3 separate regions of the Homo sapiens genome follow, and all the other regions are linked to region 1. The links are contacts of gene promoters, found by promoter capture Hi-C in blood cells and fetal thymus (Javierre and others, 2016). All regions are on one chromosome and are shown on one strand. The core of a region is centred on a gene start or on the middle of the fragment in contact, and the rest is flanking DNA. Distances in the headings are between cores, read along the strand shown. Region 1 holds the start of CEBPD (CCAAT enhancer binding protein delta). Region 2 overlaps SPIDR (scaffold protein involved in DNA repair). Region 3 overlaps SPIDR (scaffold protein involved in DNA repair).

What was found. The method cuts DNA at HindIII sites, captures the fragments that hold promoters and counts their contacts. A CHiCAGO score of 5 or more calls a contact.
Region 2: a contact is called between a fragment that was not itself captured here and the fragment with the promoter of CEBPD in region 1, in 2 of 17 cell types (neutrophils and monocytes). The highest score is 9.9, in neutrophils.
Region 3: a fragment that was not itself captured here is called in contact with the fragment with the promoter of CEBPD in region 1 in 2 of 17 cell types (neutrophils and monocytes); the score reaches 6.5 in neutrophils.

The regions. Positions count from the first base shown.
Region 1 is chr8:47,735,899-47,740,349 of GRCh38, forward strand. CEBPD (CCAAT enhancer binding protein delta) reads right to left here and starts at 2,266. Exons shown (of 1, transcript NM_005195.4): 1 at 1,015-2,266. The coding sequence starts at 2,222. The coding sequence ends at 1,413. It overlaps SPIDR (scaffold protein involved in DNA repair), which reads left to right. Exons shown (of 20, transcript NM_001080394.4): 20 at 1-408. RefSeq lists an enhancer at 1,290-2,228 and silencers at 1,625-1,814, 2,305-2,414, 2,455-2,534, 2,625-3,094. The HindIII fragment of the contact is 19,422 bases long and covers 1-4,451 here.
Region 2 is chr8:47,503,158-47,507,608 of GRCh38, forward strand. The region is part of intron 8 of SPIDR (scaffold protein involved in DNA repair); the gene reads left to right. Among named protein-coding and RNA genes, the nearest start is that of CEBPD, 230 kb to the right of the region's middle. The HindIII fragment of the contact is 3,698 bases long and covers 737-4,434 here.
Region 3 is chr8:47,569,080-47,573,530 of GRCh38, forward strand. The region is part of intron 8 of SPIDR (scaffold protein involved in DNA repair); the gene reads left to right. Among named protein-coding and RNA genes, the nearest start is that of CEBPD, 170 kb to the right of the region's middle. The HindIII fragment of the contact is 2,323 bases long and covers 592-2,914 here.

The DNA.
Region 1 (4,451 bases), core at 1,016-3,515:
AAATGTCAAACCTAAGCACTTTGCAGTTCACTACTTTTGGGAAAATGTTCTAGGGAACTGTATCACAGGTGAAACTGTTACCCATAAAGTGTAGCTCTCTGAACTGGTGTGATCGTGTCTCTGCTGAATGGTGGTGGGGATAGCTGGCTCCACCACACACACCTGTTTTAATTAGGCTGGGTAATGTGCACGGAGAGCAAAGATCACAGACTAAGGAGCAGTCAGTCGGATATTTGCTTTGCTGGCAAAGATTTAAACCAAGAATTAATTATCTTTGGACACTATAAAGATTTTGTTCCCTTCCTTATAGCAATATAATCATGACAGGCCATGGTTAACTACATCAGATACACGTAGCAGCCGTGACCAAGACATGGTGCCCTAATACCAAGTGTTCTTGGGTTAAAGGCAGGCGGCTTTTTAATTAAATCTTAAAGCACTGCAATTACTGGCAAGACAGCTGGTCTTAAGCAGTTTTGTGACTGCCCTTTTCATCCACTACATGACTATTCCGGCCTTTCTGGAGCACTTTTGAAAATCTACTTGACTCTGTCCACAAGACTGAGGAAAGTGAAAGCAAAGTCCCGGGAAAGCGGGAGATGATTCAGCCCGGGGTTCTGCCCCTCGCCCCTCCAGCAGCCTCTACAGTTAGGGAGCTCTTGAACTGTTCTCAGCAGGGGCCCCCAAAAAGTCAACCCTTCCCCAGGTCTGCGTTCTTCGGGAGAACACCTTCTGCTGGAAAGCTGCTAGCTTACCTGAGCTCAGCCGTGCTCCACCTAGCTTAGGCAAGTTAAATAAGGCCAGGAGAGAGCCTTTAATGCGTTTTAAAAGCGACAGACCCTCTCTCCTGAGTAGCTCGGGCCTGCGCCCCATCCCCCCGCCCCCCCCACACACACACCTGGCGCCCGGGCTCCCTGGTGCTCGCTGGCTGCGGGTCCGGAACGCACCCTTCCCGAGCCGGGTCCTGCGCCACCGGCGGGCGGGCGGGAGTCACTGCGAATATAGGAAGCAGGGGCGATTTCAAATGCTGCTTTATTCTTACAAATACTGTAAAAATTAATATAAAAAAGTGAGCATGCTCAGTCTTTTCCTCTTATCTACAATACAAAGGGTTTGTCTGAAAAGTCTGGTTTTTTTTCTTTTTACAAATGTACCTTAGCTGCATCAACAGGAGTAAGATGTAGAAAAAGCTACCATTACAAAAATAATTTAAGGGAAAATAAACACGTTTAGCTTCTCTCGCAGTTTAGTGGTGGTAAGTCCAGGCTGTAGCTTCTTTGCGCTCCTATGTCCCAAGAAACTGCAGCGGGCACCCGGCGGCTCTGGCTGCGCCAGGGCAGGGCGCGCTCCGCTCCGGGCCGTCGGGTCTGAGGTATGGGTCGTTGCTGAGTCTCTCCCGCCCCGGCCGCGCGTTACCGGCAGTCTGCTGTCCCGGCGGCCGGCAGGAAGGGCGGGCTGGGCAGCTGCTTGAAGAACTGCCGGAGGCCGGCCAGGTCCCGCGTGAGCTGCTCCACGCGCTGGTGCAGCTTCTCGTTCTCAGCCGACAGCTCCACCAACTTCTGCTGCATCTCCTGGTTGCGCCGCTTGGCCTTGTCGCGGCTCTTGCGCACGGCGATGTTGTTGCGCTCGCGCCGCTGCCGGTACTCGGGGCTGCCGCGGTCCGGGCCCCTCTTGCCGGCGCTCTTCTCCCGGGCGGGGCCGGGCGCGGGGGTCTGCCTGGGGCTGCTGCGCGGCGGCTCCGGCGACGTGGGCGGGGTGGGCTGCCCTGCGGCCGCCAAGCTCACCACGGTCTGTGCGCACGCGGCCACCTGCGCGGGCAACAGCGAGCCGGGCGCGTCGCCGTCGCCCCAGTCGGGCTCGCGCTTGAGCAGGCGGGGAGCGGCAGGGCCCGGGCCCAAGGGGCGCGCGGGGCCGCCGGGAAGAAGCTCCAGGGGCCCCGCGCCGCCCGCCTTGTGATTGCTGTTGAAGAGGTCGGCGAAGAGCTCGTCGTGGCACAGCTCCAGGGTGGGCACGGCGGCCATGGAGTCGATGTAGGCGCTGAAGTCGATGGCGCTCTCGTCGTCGTACATGGCGGGGGCGGCGGCGCCTGGCTCGCCTAGGGCCCCTGGCTCGGCCCCGCGGCCCGGCTTGCCCGCCCGGCCCGGTTCGTAGAAGGGCGCAGGCTCCGCAGGCCAGGGCGCGCCGCGCGCCGGGCCGTCCAGGCTGAAGAGCGCGGCGCTCATGGCGGCGTCGGGCCGGGCTCTGCGTCCAAGCGAGGCTGTCACCTCGCTGGGCCCAGCCCCGCCGCCTTTTCTAGCCCCGGCTGACGTGCACGCCCCGCCCCGACTCCGGCACCGCGGGGGCGCCCCGGGGCCGCGGGGGAAGGGGCGGGGGCGCCCTGGGAGCCCCCCGGAGCCGCCCCGAGCCTTCCCGGGGCGCGCCCCCTCTCAGTTCCTCCCCGGGGCCCCCTCCCCGGCCCTGGGGACCCCCAGCCCACGTTGCAGGAGGGTGCCCGCGCTGCTGCTCCCTCCCCGGCCCGGGCCGGCCTGCGCTGCGCTGCTGGGAATGACACTCCCTCTGCCAGCACTCCAGGGCCTTCTCTTCTTCCTGTTTGTGGGCTTGGAACCTCCTCGCTCCTCGGGGTTGGGAGTGAAATCAAAACCAGGACTTGGCCGCAGCGCGCGCGTCCCAGGCCGGCTCCTGTCGCCGGAGGGCGGGGGGTGGAGACCCGTGGGAGAGGACCCGCGCGTCCAAGGACGCCCCCCGACCGTGGGCACGCGCGTGAGGCCCTCGCCCCGCGCCTCCACCGTGGGACCAGATGCGGGAAGAGGCGTGGGGGACCAGACGTGGGGACAGCGGCGGCCTGGCAGGCGGGGAGGGCTGCCCGCACCGCACTCGGGCGCCTCGGGGAATCCGGGCCGGTTCTCGCTGCTCTCCTCGGAGGTCCCGGGTCCGGCCGGCCCTGGGGGTCGAGGCCCAGAGACGCGGCTGCTGCGTCCTGGCCGAAAGGCCGACGGGACGCTGTCGCCAAAAGCAGAGCAGATGGGGGAGACGCGGTCACGACACCGCGTCCTCCGCCGGCTCCTCGAGGTGCGGGCTCTCCGGCCGGACGCTACTCCCCGACCCCGCAGACCCGGGCGTCCGCCGCCAGCTCCCGCGCCCGCGTTTCTTCCAGGTCTACGGAAGCAGTGCCATCGTGTGGCGGCATCTTGCGTTAGACCTGTTTTTAGTTCCAGGCTCTTTCCCTGTTAAATATTCCAAAAAAGTGCCTTGAACCTAAAGTAGTTGGGTCCTTTTTGGGAAACAGGTAAGATCTACCAGTAGCTATAGCAGGGTGCAGATGGGCCTCGACTCACGATGGGGTTACATCCCGGTAGACCCATCGCACACTGAAAATGTCTTAAGTAAGAATGGGCTTTGTCATGTGTCCTGCAATTTGAGGCAGGCATTTCTGGTCAGACCCATTTATTATTTTAAATTAAAAATATGGTTTTTTTCAGCCGAGCACAGTGGCTCATGCCGGTAATCCCAGCATTTTGGGAGGCTGAGGTGGGCGGATCACTTGAGGTCAGGAGTTTGAAACCAGCCTGGTCAACATGGTGAAACCCCATTTCTACTAAAAATACAAAAATTAGCCAAGCGTAGTGGCGTGCGCCTGTAATCCCAGCTACTCGGGAGGCTGAGGCAGGAGAATCGCTTGAACCCGGGAGGCGGAGGTTGCAGTGAGCCGAGATCGTTCCATTGCACTCCAGCCTGGGCGACAGAGCGAGACTCCATCTCAAAAAAAAAATTGAGATGGGATCTCACAATATTGTCCAGGCTGGTTTCAAACTCCTGGGCTTAAGAGATTCGCCGGCCTCAGCCTCCCAAAGTGCTGGGATTACAGGCGTGAGCCACCATGTCGGGCCCAAATCCATTAAATCACTATCGCTAGTCACACCTGCTCCATGTCGAGTCTCTTCCTGCGCAGGCCTCTCACCAGATCTGCGTCGGAACACCAAGCTCTACTAACTGCTGTGCAGTTTCTGCAGTCAGTTCCAGAGGTCATTTCTAACGTTGCACTATGGGATATTTAATAGGTTTCCTAAAGAACAAACATATTTCTTTAGAGTTACTCAGAGGGTACACAATGATGATGTCACACAATTAATTACCTATTAAGACTGAAATCCAGCAATGCATAGAGTGTGGACTTACGCACATCCAGAAAAAGTTCTAGCACAAATTGTTTTGTTCTCATATATTTCAGAAGCCATAGAAACACTATTAAAGCCCTCCCTAATCACTTAGGGAATGCAAAATCAATATTTATAAGGGATAACCATATCCTCCTAAAAACAACTCAGAGACTATTTTCAGTGAGATGATTTACTGATTCCGATAGTCAATATAGTTACATTTTATTTTTATTTTTATCTTTATTTTTGAGACGGAGTCTTGCTCTGTCGCCAGGCTTGAGTGCAGTGGCGCGA
Region 2 (4,451 bases), core at 1,336-3,835, 230 kb before region 1:
TGGTGCAGAACTGAGTTCAATTCCTGAATATCCTTGTTAACTTTCTGTCTCGTTGATATATCTAATGTTGACAGTGGGGTGTTAAAGTCTCGCATTGTTACTGTGTGGGAGTCTAAGTCTCTCTGTAGGTCTCTAAGGACTTGCTTTATGAGTCTGGGTGCTCCTGTATTGGGTGCATATATATTTAGGATAGTTAGCTCTTCTTGTTGAATGATCCCTTTACCATTATGTAATGGCCTTCTTTGTCTCTTTTGATCTTTGTTGGTTTAAAGTCTGTTTTATCAGACACTAGGATTGCAACCCCTGCCGTTTTTTGTTTTCCATTTGCTTGGTAGATCTTCCTCCATCCGTTTATTTTGAGCCTATGTGTGTCTCTGCACGTGAGATGGGTTTCCTCAATACAGCACACTGATGGGTCTCGACTCTATCCAATTTGCCAGTCTGTGTCTTTTAATTGGCGCATTTAGCCCATTCACATTTAAGGTTAATATTGTTATGTGTGAATTTGATCCTGTCTTTATGATGTTAGGTGGTTATTTTGCTCATTAGTTAATGCATTTTCTTCCTACCATCTATAGTCTTTACAATTTGGCATGTTTTTGCAGTGGCTGGTACCGGTTGTTCCTTTCCATGTTTAGTGCTTCCTTCAGGAGCTCTTTTAGGGCAGGCCTGGTGGTGACAAAATCTCTCAGCATTTGTTTGTCTGTAAAGGATTTTATTTCTCCTTCACTCATGAAGCTTAGTTTGGCTGGATATGAAATTCTGGGTTGAAAATTCTTTTCTTTAAGAATGTTGAATATTGGCCCCCACTCTCTTCTGGCTTGTAGAGTTTCTGCCGAGAGACCAGCTGTTAGTCTGATGGGCTTCCCTTTGTGGGTAACCTCACCTTTCTCTCTGGGTGCTGTTAACGTTTTTTCCTCCATTTCAACCTTGGTGAATCTGACAATTATGTGTCTTGGAGTTGCTCTTCTCGAGGAGTGTCTTTGTGGCGTTCTCTGTATTTCCTGAATTTGAATGTTGGCCTGCCTTGCTAGATTGGGGAAGTTCTCCTGGATAATATCCTGCAGAGTGTTTTCCAGCTTGGTTCCATTCTCCTCGTCACTTTGAGGTACACCAGTCAGACATAGATTTGGTCTTTTCACATAGTCCCATATTTCTTGGAGGCTTTGTTCGTTTCTTTTTTTTCTTTTTTCTCTAAACTTCTCTTCTCACTTCATTTCATTCATTTGATCTTCTATCACTGATACCCTTTCTTCTAGTTGATCGAATCGGCTACTGAGGCTTGTGCATTTGTCACATAGTTCTCGTGCCTTGGTTTTCAGCTCCATGAGGTCCTTTAAGGACTTCTCTGCATTGGTTATTCTAGTTAGCCATTCGTCTAATCTTTTTTCAAGGTTTTTAACTTCTTTGCCATGGGTGCAAACTTCCTCCTTTAGCTCGGAGTAGTTTGATCATCTGAAGCCTTCTTCTCTCAACTCGTCAAAGTCATTCTCCGTCCAGCTTTGTTCCATTGCTGGTGAGGAGCTGTGTTCCTTTGGAGGAGGAGAGGCACTCTGATTTTTAGAGTTTCCAGTTTTTCTGCTCTGTTTTTTCTCCATCTTTGTGGTTTTATCTACCTTTGTGTCTTTGATGATAGTGACGTACAGATGGGGTTTTGGAGTGGATATCCTTTCTGTTAGTTTTCCTTCTAACAGTCAGGACCCTCAGCTGCAGGTCTGTTGGAGTTTGCCGGAGGTCCACTCCAGACCCTGTTTGCCTGGATATCAGCAGCAGACGCTGCAGAGTGGCTGATATTGGTGAACAGCAAATGTTGCTGCCTGATCGTTTCTCTGGAAGTTTTGTCTCAGCGGAGTACCCGGCCGTGTGAGGTGTCAGTCTGCCCCTACTGAAGGGTGCCTCCCAGTTAGGCTACTCAGGGGTCAGAGACCCACTTGAGGAGGCAGTCTGTCCATTCTCAGATCTCCATCTGAGTGCTGGGAGAACCACTACTCCCTTCAAGGCTGTCAGACAGGGACATTTCAGTCTGCAAAGGATTCTGCTGTCTTTTGTTTGGCTATGTCCTGCCCCCAGAGGTGGAGGCTACAGAGGCAGGCAGGCAGGCCTCCTTGAGCTGCGGTGGGCTCCACCCAGTTCGAGCTTCCCCGCCACTTTGTTTACCTACCCAAGCCTCAGCAATGGCGGGCGCCTCTCCCCAAGCCTCGCTGCCGCCTTGCAGCTTGATCTCAGACTGCTGTGCTAGCAATGAGCAGGGCTCTGTGGGCATAGGACCCTCCAAGCCATGTGCGGGATATAATCTCCTGGTGTGCCATATGCTATGACCATTGGAAAAGCGCAGTATTAGGGTGGGAGTGACCCAATTTTCCAGGTGCCATCTGTCACCCCTTTCTTTGACTAGGAAAGGGAATTCCCTGACCCCTTGCGCTTCCCGGGTGAGGCAGTGCCTCGCCCTGCTTCGGCTCATGCTCGGTCCGCTGCGCCCACTTTCCGATACTCCCCAGTGCGATACCTCAGTTGGAAATGCAGAAATCCCCGGTCTTCTGCGTTGGTCACGCTGGGAGCTGTAGACTGGAGCTGTTCCTATTCGGTACAGCAGCATTTCAACTGCACTGATCTGTGGTCATCTAGTGACAACACTAGCAGTGCCACCCGGGCTTCCCTACTAAGGATATTAGTGTTCACTCTCTCCGAACCGTTACCTTTTGTGAATTTTTTTCCGTCACTTCTCAACCATAAGTATACTTAGCCTATATCTTGGGCATAATTTCAGTGTATGTAATTCCATTATTTTTGAGTATTGCCCTCCTGGCACATTGAATGTATCTTCTGACTCATCATTTTCTGAATCTTAAACTATAAAATGGAAAATTATGCCTTCTGTAGATGTTTCTATACTTTCTCAAACCATTTCTGCATGTATAGTACCTCCTTTGTTTCTTGTAATGCTACAAGAGTTGAGAGCTCAGTTGCAGATGACAGAATCCAGGCGAGGCTTTCTAAGCAGAACATGTTTGGCTGCTTCCTACCCACCTGGAAGTAACACAGGGAGGAGGGCAGCTACTAGACAGTTCAGCACAAATGCTGCTATTTCAGCTGCATGTTTGTGTGTTCTGTGTCAACATAAACCCCCCTTACATTTCCAAACAACAGCAGCAACAATTTATTTACACCATCATACAGCTCTCCCGTATAGAAATAATGAGGGTCTCACTCTACCTAGAGGGCAGTCCCAAAATCTCGTTTGTTTCTGCAGTTGGTTCCACCAGTGCAGGTTCTCAGGGTGATCGTTCTTTCTTTCTCTAATTTAGGCAGTGTTCTGTCTTAGAATTCTGGGATCCTGTAACCTATAGAATGAATTGCAAGGCTAATATCACCAATAGACCCTATCTAAAACTGGGGAAATGGAGAAAGGAAATTAGTTAACATGCATAAATATATACTTGCCACACCGAGAGAGGAAGAAGTATGCATAATTATTAGACTTCTCATTTCTACAAGTGGTTACTACCCATTTTGTGGTCTACATGCCCTAAAGTATCCAAATGTATTACTTAGTGGGTTTACGGACATATGCAGTGTTACTGGCAGACAGTGAAGACAAAACCAAACCTGAGTAGGCATATCTTCTAGTGAGGATAAAATGGTATCCTGTCATGATAGAAGGGATTGAGTGTAATTAACCGGTTATTATGTAGCAGGCGGTCCCTCCAAATCGATTGTTGTTCCTAGCAAGTTGACACTCCACTGTGTTGGGAAATAGCTGAGCTCTGTGCAGGGAGGCTGCCCATGTTGTACTTCTACCACTGTGGTCACTTTGCTAATGAGCCCACTAAACAACCTCTGGGCTACTGTGGAGAGAGTGAGACAAGCATTCATAGGGTGATTTATCATGTCCACCTGGTTTTTGAGAGCCTTCTCTCCAGTAAGCATTCAGATGGACACCGTATCTGTCTTACTCCTGGTTCAAGAAATCCACCCATATGCCTCTTCCCAGCCACCTGCTGCCAGCTCCTCAGTCTTCTTCCTCCTTTGTCTGTGCTGGTCAATGTAAGTTCTGATTCTTTGTGAGTAGAGGCTTGTACTGCAAGCTGTCTTTCAGTTGGGTCAGATAGTCCATGATATGTGCCCATAAAGCGTCTTCCCAATGGTTTAGCTCAGTAGTTGCTGCTGCCCATGAATCAGTGTGATTGATACCTCATGCCATCTCTTCTGGGCAGACTGGACCCAAGACATGCCATGGGAAGCTCTGCTCCTCTGTCAGGGCCTTCTGTGAAGGAAGCTGCAAAGCTGTAACAGCCGATTTCAGCTGCTCATATCGTGTTGCTCCATCTGGATACGAGCTCCTCAGACAGCTGGTCATGCAGACTTTCCCATGAGCCCTGGTGGGGGGCTGAGGGAAGGATGGCAGGATGCAAGAGTAGGCACATCAGTAATATAAGCTTCTTGTTGACGGA
Region 3 (4,451 bases), core at 503-3,002, 170 kb before region 1:
AAGATATTCTATGCAAATATTAACTAAAAGAGAACCAAGATAGGTATATCATTGTAGATAAAATAAACTTTAAATCAAAAGCAGTTACAAGAGATAAAGGACACTATATATTAATTAAAAGGTTCAATACAGCAAGAAGAGATAACAGATATATATACACCTAACAAAGGTGCCCCAGAATATAAGAAGTAAAAATTGACAGAGTCAAAGGGAGAAATAGACAGTTCTAAAATAATAATTAGAGACTTAATTACTCCCACTTTCAATAGGGATTAGAACAACTAGAAAGAAGATCAGTAGGAAATATTGGACTTGAACAACACTGTAAAGCAATTAAACCTAACAGACGTGCAGAATATTCCCACCTAACAACATAATACCCATTCTTGTCAAGTGCACATGGAACATTTTCCAGGATAGATTATTTGTTAAACCATCAAACAAGTCTTAATAAGTTAAAATATTCAGGTCTTACAGAGTATATTTTCCAGTTACAATAGAATAAGAGAAGGATATCCATTTTTACCACTTCTGTTGAATATTGTACTGGAGTTTCTACCCAGGACAATTAGGCAAGAAAAGGAATTAAAAAGCTTCCATGTTGGAAAGGAAGAAGTGAAATTTTCTCTATTCACAGATGACATGATTTCAAATGTAGAAAATCCTAAGGAATTCACTAAAAAGAACTGATAGAAGTAATGAGCTTAGCAAGGTTGCAGGGTACAAGGTCAGTATAGAAAAATCAGCTGTATTTCTGTACAATGCAATGAACAATCTGAAAATGAAATTAAACCAATTTTATTTACAGTGGCACCAAAAGGAATAAAATACTTAGAAATAAATTTAATAAAACAAGTGTAATACACTCTGAAAACTACAAAACAATGTTGAAAGAGATTAATAGGGTTAAGAAGGCAATACTCACCAAATTGATCTGTAGATTCAACATGATTCCTATTAGAATCCCATCTGGCTTCTTTGTAGAATTAACAAGATGATCATGGGAATTCATATGTAAACCCAAGAGACCCAGAATAGCCAAAACAGCCTTGAAAAAGAAGAAAGTTATAGGACTCACCCTTTCCAATTTAAAAAAGTGCTACAAAGCTACAGTATTCAAGACAGTGTTGACATAAAGATAAACATGTCGACCAATGAAATGTATTAGAAAGCCCTCTAAACCCCTCTATGGTCAGTTGATTTTCAACAAAGGTACCAAGATCATTCAAGGGGGAAAGAATAATGGTCTTCCACAGATGGTGCTGGGACTACCAGATATCCACATGCAAAATAATAGAGATCTTTACCTTAAACATATACAAAAATTAACTCAAAATGAATCAGAGACCTAAATGTAAGAGCCAAAAGTATAAAACTCCTAGAATAAAACACAAGAAGAAATCTTCCTGACCTTGAATGTGGTGATGGATTCTTAGGTATGACACTAAAAGCATAAGCAATAAAAGGAAAAAAATATTGCACATCATCAAGATTAAGAACTTTTGTGCTTCAAAAGACACTATCAAGAAAGTGAAAAGTTAACCCACAGAATGGAGGGGAGTATATGCAGATCATATATTTGATAAGAGAGTTACATAGAGAATATATAAAAAATTCTTACCACTCAGTAATAAAAAGACAACCTAATTTTTAAAATGGGCAAAGAATCTGAAAAGATTCTTTCTGCAAAGAAGATATACAATAAGAGTAATGATTAAGATGAAAGGTTTTAGCCGGGTGTGGTGGCTCACGCCTATAATCCCAGCACTTTGGAAGGCCTAGGTGGGCGGATCACAAGGTCAGGAGTTCGAAACCAGCCTGGCCAATATGGTGAAACCCCGTCTCTACTAAAAATACAAAAATTAGCCAGGTGTAGTGGTGGGCGCCTGTAGTCCCAGCTACTCGGGAAGCTGAGACAGGAGAATTGCTTGAACCCGGGAGGCAGAAGTTGCAGTGAGCCGAGATCGCACCACGGCACTCCAGCTTGGGCTACGGAGCGAGACTCTGTCTCAAAAAAAAAAAAAGTTGAACTCGTAGAAACAGAGTAGAAGGGTGTACCAGGGCTTGAGGGTGGGAGAAATGGAGAGATATTAGTTAAGGGGTCCAAACTTTCATTTATAAGATGAGTAAGTTCTGGAGACCTAACGGACAGCATGGTATCTACAGTTAATGTATATTTGACATTTGCTGAGAGAGTGGATCTTAAGTATTGTAAGCATACACATAGAACATGTGAGTAGATGGAGATGTTAATGCTGTGGCAGTCATTTCACACTCTATACGTACTTCAGACATCACATTGTGTCCCTCTTATATGTATTTGATTTTTATTTGCCAATTTTATTTCAATAAAGCTCAGGGGGAGGAGGAAATAAAATAATAATGAAATAAAATGAAAAATAGAATCATATATATCCTACTTCCCTCCCAGAATTGTTACAAGAATCAAATGAGGTAACTTAAGGAAAGTAATTTATAAAATGCAAATTTAATTAATATATAAAATACAAACATTATAGCAATAAGCATAATTGCCATTATTAAACATTATACTAGTGCCGCCTTATTCAAGGAGGATATATTCCAATACCTCCAGTGGATACATAGTACTCAACCTTGTATAAACTGTTTTTGCCTATGCATACATACCTGTGATAAAGGTTAATTTATAAATAAGGCAAAGTAAAGATTAACAACAACAATAATAAAGTAGAACAATTATAACAATATACTGTGATAAAAATTATGTGAATGTGGTCTCCTAAAATATCTTATTGTACTGTGCTCACCTATTTTCGTACCTTGGTGTTCTGAGGATAACTGAAACCACAAAAAACAAAACCGTGGATGAGAGAACACTGTATTAAATAAATATAATAACATTATATTATGCTTTCCCTCTTCTAATAGATCAAGCTTACTTTTAAGTTGGTTCTGTTGTCATTTCTAACCATTGGTGTACCAAGTAATCTCTTGTATGTAGTGAGTGCTCAGTAAATGTACTAGAAAAAAATTTAACTGAAATAGTGTAATATTTGATATAATATAAAATATTTAGGTAGTATTTTGTTTTCCTGAGAGGGTACCACAGACTGTTTTGAATGTCATATCAATAATCTGTTTATTTTGATAAAGGTAACTTAGATAATCCTTACCATTGTATTTATAGCCCAGCACAGTGATAGTTTACAATCTTAACATACATCTATCTTTAACTATCAATTTTAGGAGGCCAAGAATTCAGTCGATAAGATATTATCAGTAATAAACTGGTCAAAAAAAGGTGTAAAAACTTGTATGAGGGCCGGGCACGGTGGCTCATGCCTGTAATCCCAGCACTTCGGGAGTTCGAGGCGGGTGGATCACAAGGTGAAAAGATCGAGACCATCCTGGCTAATGTGGTGAAACCCCATCTCTACTAAAAATACAAAAGTTAGCTGGGCATGGTGGCGGACACCTGTAGTCCCAGCTACTCGGGAGGCTGAGGCAGGAGAATCACTTGAACCCAGGAGGTGGAGGTTGCAGCGAGCTGAGATTGCGCCACTGCCACTCCTGCCTGGCGACAGAGCAAGACTCCATCTCAAAATTAAATTAAAATAAATAAATAAATAAATAAATAAATAAATAAATAACTTGTACGATTCCTGTATTGTTTCCTTTGAAGATGTGGTTTGCAATTGAGAAACATTTTTGAGACAGAAATAAAAGATGAAAAAGGCTTCCATCGGATGGGTCTGTTTCCCTCTTGAGCTCTCCCACACATTGACACAGCATCTCTCATGGACCAGGGGCAGTGCCGCTGCCTGTCCCCAAGGAAGCTCCCTAAGCCCAGTGCAGGAAGAGAAGCGTGCTAAATAAGATACCCTGCAGACAAGAGAATGACATCGTTGATGAAAACAAATTTTTCTATGTTTGTCTTTATTTTAACAAACAGCATTTTGGGTTTGTTAAGTAAAAACCCATTTACATTAATTTTTCAGGTAATAAGTTTAAGACAAATATACCTAAAGTATAAAATGACTTGAAGTTCTATTTAAAATGAGTTGTCTAAATTATAAATCAGAAAGTCTACACAGTGAAGTTACGAGTGAAAAGTCCACTTGGTGTTTGTCCTGATTGTTTTTCGGCAGGCTTAGCACAGTGAGCCCCTGGAGAGACTTGGAAGTGTGTGTGGGCACAGTAAGTGACTAGTTAAAAGTTTATGTTTCAAGTTAGTGTTACCAAACTTGGAGGATGAAGATTTGAAAGTATAATGGCCTAGTACTGACTTCTCTGTAGCCACACACTTTACCTTCAGGCAGGGCACACTCAGTAGTCCTCTGTGATAAGGCAGGAAGGTCAGAGTATATTGAGGGGTCTGTCATGAGCGCAGTAGCTGCCCAGCAGCCCTCAGGCCCTGCAAGATACCCCCCTGCTGAGCCATCACATTTGTAGGGGGCAACATGATGTCG